Linked DNA regions of Homo sapiens: region 1 is linked to region 2. The links are contacts of gene promoters, found by promoter capture Hi-C in blood cells and fetal thymus (Javierre and others, 2016). All regions are on one chromosome and are shown on one strand. Each heading gives the region's core, a stretch centred on a gene start or on the middle of the fragment in contact. The rest is flanking DNA. Distances are from core to core; before and after follow the strand shown. Region 1 overlaps CRIM1 (cysteine rich transmembrane BMP regulator 1). Region 2 holds the start of VIT (vitrin).

Region 1 (2,718 bases), core at 132-2,631, 240 kb before region 2:
AAGTGAGGCCAGAGTATTGAAAATACTTTGTCCACATAGACTCTCAAGCCTCTCAGATTATAATCATATAAAACAGCTAACAGGTGTTGTGTGCTTCTGTGTTCCAGGCACTATCCTGGGTGCTTTTCATCAGTTCGTTTAATCCACATAGCAGTCATATGATATGTGGGTACTTTAATCATCCCCACTGTACATAGGCTACAATTGAGGCTTAGAGAGATTACTTAACTTACTCAAGGTCACATAGTTCCTAAGCGGCCAGAACTTGAACCTAAGACTGTGTTGTTGCCAAAGTGCATTCCCCAAACCTCTGCCCTCTAAAGCGTTGGATAGGAGACAGAGTCACCGGAAGGGAAGGTTTGCATGAGAGAGGAAAGCAACCATGTGCAAGTAGCCAGTGGTCAACTTGGAGAATGCTGACCTCCCTTCCATCCCAGGTGAATAAGTGAGTAGGATGTGGGGATTCTCAGTCTCACTGGAGATGGCTATAAGGAAATAGAATCTTTAGGGGAGAGCCAGGTAAATGTTAGAAACAAATTCGAGTGGTGCATTGTGTGATATGTTCGGAGGATGGGGGAGTTTGTCTGCAGAGGAAAGTTTGGAGGAAGCAGGGGAGTCAGTTGGAAGGGATGAGTCCCAGAGCAGTGCTCTCTGGGGATGTGCATTCCTTGGAGGATGAGAGACAATACGGTCTTTCACTTTGCACTGATGACAAGGATGAGAGGCTGGGAATTGACTGCCCAAAGGAATCCAAGTGGATGCATGCTTAAAGTCATCTGTTTCAGCACTAGCTCAGGCCCCAGATGGTTCTGGCGGCCTGAAGGAGTGTTAGCAGCCAGGCAATGGAGGCTTTGCTCAGATTTTCAAGTAGAAGGTTAGTCCAGACATCGTTGGTGTTTGTTCTTTGTGTGCTCTGGGGAGAGGATTTAATAGTCAACCTCCCATTGTGTTCTCATTTGTGGTTATATATAAAAGCTTCCCTAAACTAAATTCCCTAAACTTAGGGCCAGAACCCTGTGTATCCCCAGCCGCAATCCAGCTTAGTACCTGCTGCATGTACACACTCGGTAAACAGCTACAAAATCATTACGTGTTCATAAACAAGCTGATTCATTGTTCCAAAGCATCTATTTTCTGAGGCAGTTGGAAATTCCACTCTGAAGTGGGAATAACCTATGTTGCTAAACTAAAACTTATTCTCCACTTCCCAGCCCAGTTCTCCTTTCCACAGCGTGATGTGCCAGTTTCCCTTCCTCCTTTTCCAAACTAGTCCTTCATGCAGCTCTCACTCCCATCCTGTCTTACTCTCTAAAGCCATCCTACCAGCCGTGAAAGCAGATGCCATTGTCTTCCCCTAGACCTACGGAAGTGAAGGCAGGGAGCCTTCCGTTCCTGGGACTTGGCCAGCTCTCGATGTGTGATATCGGATTGTTGAGCTGGACTGAGTGGCCCAGGATTTCTGCCAGATCCCAGCTGTAACATTTCAACAGGGGCACGGGCCCTGCGATTACTTTCAGCTGTGTTTCTGCTGTGTCTGTCTCCACCCCCCCACCACCCACCGCTGGGGTTGAGTCCCTTCAAAACTAACCCTGATTTTTTTTTTTTTTAGCCACTCACGTCAAGGTAGTAATTTGTGAAAGATGCCGTTGTTTTCTCCCCACCACACCTACTTTCTGTGGGGCAGAGTCCTAGAAGATAATTGTTAAATTCTTATAGGAACCACGTAGACTTACAACTTCTGTTCTCCTGCAGCTTATACCACTTTCCTTTCAACTTAGCACCTTAAGATAAGCTTCCGGAGCCACATGCCAGCCTCGAGGAGGAAGCTAGGAAGAGAAGAGCTTAATGGCTGCTTTATTATTATTACCAGTAGTAGGAAGGCAAGGGAATATTTTATTTTATTTTTATTTATTTTATAAATTTTTTATTTCCATAGGTTTTTGGGAAACAGGTAGTATTTGGTTACATAAGTTCTTTAGCGGTGATTTGTGAGATTTTGGGGCACCCATCACCTGAACAGTATACACTGAACCCAAACCTAATTGTCTTTAACTTATACCTTCCCTACATGTGAGCATGTCCTTTGATTCCTCCCCCCAGAAAAAAACAAAGCGTAAAACAACAACAACGAAAGGCAGAGTGATTTTTTCTGGTGGTCTTCAAAGGGAAAGTGTTGAAGAAGGTACAGTTTCTGCTCACTGTACACAGGGGAGGGATGGCTGCGGGGGGAGAGTGTGATCCCCAGGGCAGGGCTGCACTTGCTGTGGCTACAGCACATCTGTCAGTGTTAGGGGGTGTAAATGCCAGGAAATCACGCAGGAATAAGCTTGAGACAGGGGAGAAAGGGTGAAGGAGGGTTAGTTATTCATACACAGATAGTAGTAAATCTCTTATGGTGAGGCACGAGGAAAACTGTGAGCCTAAGGAACTTTCATAGGGAGGAGTGCTGTTTTCCATAAGAAGGGTTGGACCCTCAGATAGGAAACCTGTTTCTTTTTGGATATTTTATTTGCAGCCTTTAAAAAAAAAAAAACTTACACATTCCTGGAAAGAGTAAGAAATTTAATCAGTAGAAAGATAGTACATCGAATTTAATTAAAGTTGCAGCTACTTTTTATAGAATAGCACTGTGTTTTATATGTCATTATAATTTCCATTCCCGACAAGCTATTTCATTAACACACTGTGTAGAATCCTAGTAACACAAGGGCTTTGCCC
Region 2 (3,025 bases), core at 6-2,505:
GTGCAGAAATTACATACTATCCATCTAGATAGCTTGCTACACTTCGCCTATTGATGGAATCATTCCATTTATCAAGTTTTATACATCAAAAAGCTTTGAATTTCATCAGGCTCTTCATTAATTCACCTCTGAAAAAGTGGCATTTAATTTCAGCTACCATGTTTTATAGCATTAAAAAGCTTATGCATCTCTGCACAATGGCATTGAGCAGATGAATCCCACCCAGATTCACATAGTCACATTTGAGAGCTTTAGACCAGAGAGCTGGGCCAAAGTTACTCCTAATCAACACAGACTTCTTACCGTGAGAGCCTATCTTCTCGGCCACATTTTATATAGCCAATGAAGACGTGCCAGCAATCATCCCATGTATAACTTGGCATTAGAGCACAAGATCTGTCAAACAATTATCTTAAATAAGGAGCAGTTCCAGGGCCAACAGATGAGGACAGGAGGCTTCTCGAATGGAAGAAGGTTCTCCTCCCTAGCTGCGTGAGTGCACACTCCCCAGCAGGAGGAGGAATGACTCTTTGCTACCTTCTCCTGTGCTTGAAAACAGATGCTCTGCCACACTGATGGACACTGGAATCTCAAGATCTGCCAGATGTACTTTTTTTTGGTCTGATTTTTTTTTAATGATGTGATACGTTAATACACATTTTGAATCTGAATCTCTTAGATTTCATTGATGACACTAATATATAAATAACTAAAACTGGCAGATTTCATGTGAGATTATTCATCAGTATTTTTTTTGAAACATGAGTCAGGTTTTGCTTCCCACTATGATTATCTTGTGTCCTGTAACTACCAGCATATAATTGAGTCATTTCATAAAACTTGCCAAAACGCAGAAAGGACTGAAGCAAAACAAAACAAAAAAATAGCATTAATATGTAGGAAAAAGTACATATTTTCAATTCAAAAGTGGGAGTCCAGTAGAATAAGTTTGAGAGTGTTTGCACAGTTTTCCTTCTTTGTGCAGTTCAGTCCAGCTGTTCACTAGCTTTTGAAAAAGAAAGAAAAAATTGAATTGCCCCTGCTGAAGTAATTTTTAAAACATATCTTTTACTTTCCATTTTTATCTAAGTGGTCCTCCTCTACTTTTTAGAATGTCAAATTGTAGAATTTGCTTACTGAAAGTTTGTGCTTTGGGCTACAAAAGAATATTTAGAAATCCTTACAAAAAAAAAAAAAAAAAAAAGCAGTGGGAGTGGAAATTTGAAAGAGGACCGCCTAATTCAGCACTAAAACCAGTGTGAGAAGCAGTATGTGTGAGCATGTGTGTGTGTGTATGTGTGTGGGGGGGGGTGTAAAATGTGTTTTTCAAAGTACTGAGAGGTTGATGGGACTGTTCGATTAGCTCCTCTGAGAAGAAGAGAAAAGGTTCTTGGACCTCTCCCTGTTTCTTCCTTAGAATAATTTGGATGGGATTTGTGATGCAGGAAAGCCTAAGGGAAAAAGAATATTCATTCTGTGTGGTGAAAATTTTTTGAAAAAAAAATTGCCTTCTTCAAACAAGGTATGTCTGATGAATTTCTAAGCTGTGTATATAGTTACTTTCCATTCATTATCATTGAAACGTATTTGTCTTTAAGAAACTACAATACAAAGCTTGACCGAGTAAGCAAATTTCAGTTTCAAGAGAGTTGAGATGAAAGTGGATGGTACTTGGCATCCTTGTAAACAACTAGTAATATACATATATATTTATCAATTATAAATAAACTGCATTGATATTAATATTATAACAAGATTTTTACTGTTCCTTTAAACCAATTTAATTATGGTTACAAATAAGTTGAAAAGTATGACATTTGTGTAGAATTTTAAAGTAATTTAAGTCTCTATTATCTTGCTTTTTTAAAAACTTTGCTTGGAATATGTGGAATGTAATAGCAATATAGCAAATTGCTTATAAAGATTGTGAATGGCAGTATGAGAAATGGGCACATTGGTGCTAACTTAAAAGAGAAACTATTTCGTGTGGATCTCTACTTCTCTCTATTCAGACAGATTTCAGTGGAATGTGGCTAGATGTGCGATTCTGTGTCTTGTTTACACTTAAAGTGTTTTCTTAGGCTGAATGCTTCTGTTACTGATAAGCCCAACAAGGGGCTGGCATTGTTAAGTCTGCCATCGTAGCTCAGCTTTTCACAGGAAGACAGGATATGAAATCTCTTTTAAGTATGATTTGTGTCCAACTAGTATAAACATGAAATAAACGCCTCAAGCACAGGTTAAAGAGAGAGGATAAGACTGAATAATTAGACATGACAGTTTTCTCCAAACAACCCACAGCATCTTTGCCATTCCTAAATCAAGAGTGGAATTAAAAATTTTCTTTGGACTTATTGTAAAAATAAAAACAAGCATTCTTGGCCGTGGTGGTTGCTCAAAATTGCGTGTGCTAAGAAAATAGTATTTTGCCGTTACGTTGTGTTGCAATAAATTTGGAAGTTTTGGTGGTAAAGTTCTGAGGTTGTTTTTCCCTTGGTCTCTTGAAAGATGAAAACACCCTGCAGCAAAGCAGGATCAAACACTGTTTGTTTGTGTATTTTCTCTCTATGTGTGTTAGCTGCAAGTGGTAGCTAGTGCTGGTAGGAGAGCTGGAAGTGCCCATCTTTTATTTATTGAATTAAAATACCCTCTTTTGTACAAAAAGCTTTAGACAAAGAATTACAAGATTGCAAAGACTTGCATTTTTTTATTGCAATATGCTGGTTTCCCAGACTAAGCTTCATTTAAATATATCTTATGCCTCACCACTAAAAAAAATAAAAATACCTTAGGAAGATTGGAAATGCTTAATATCTATCCTAAAACTGTTTAATTCATGAATATTGTTAAGAAGATCTGTCTTTTCCACCAAGTTACTGATCACATGAAGAATAGTTTCTTTCAGAGAAAATACATGAGGTTTGAGAATGGTTCTCAGCTATGATTCCTATAAGACACATTGAATACAGGAAAGCAGTATGGTTCAATGCATGCGCCAAGCCAGGAGTCCTAAATTATAGTAACA

The links. Contacts are between HindIII fragments. The CHiCAGO score rates a contact against its expected background, and 5 or more counts as called.
Region 1: a fragment that was not itself captured here is called in contact with the fragment with the promoter of VIT in region 2 in 1 of 17 cell types (M1 macrophages); the score reaches 5.8 in M1 macrophages.

The regions. Positions count from the first base shown.
Region 1 is chr2:36,455,237-36,457,954 of GRCh38, forward strand. All of the region lies in intron 4 of CRIM1 (cysteine rich transmembrane BMP regulator 1), which reads left to right. Among named protein-coding and RNA genes, the nearest start is that of CRIM1, 100 kb to the left of the region's middle. The HindIII fragment of the contact is 817 bases long and covers 974-1,790 here.
Region 2 is chr2:36,695,452-36,698,476 of GRCh38, forward strand. It overlaps VIT (vitrin), which reads left to right and starts at 1,256. Exons shown (of 16, transcript NM_053276.4): 1 at 1,256-1,522. The region is part of intron 2 of LOC124905990 (a long non-coding RNA gene); the gene reads right to left. The HindIII fragment of the contact is 1,435 bases long and covers 178-1,612 here.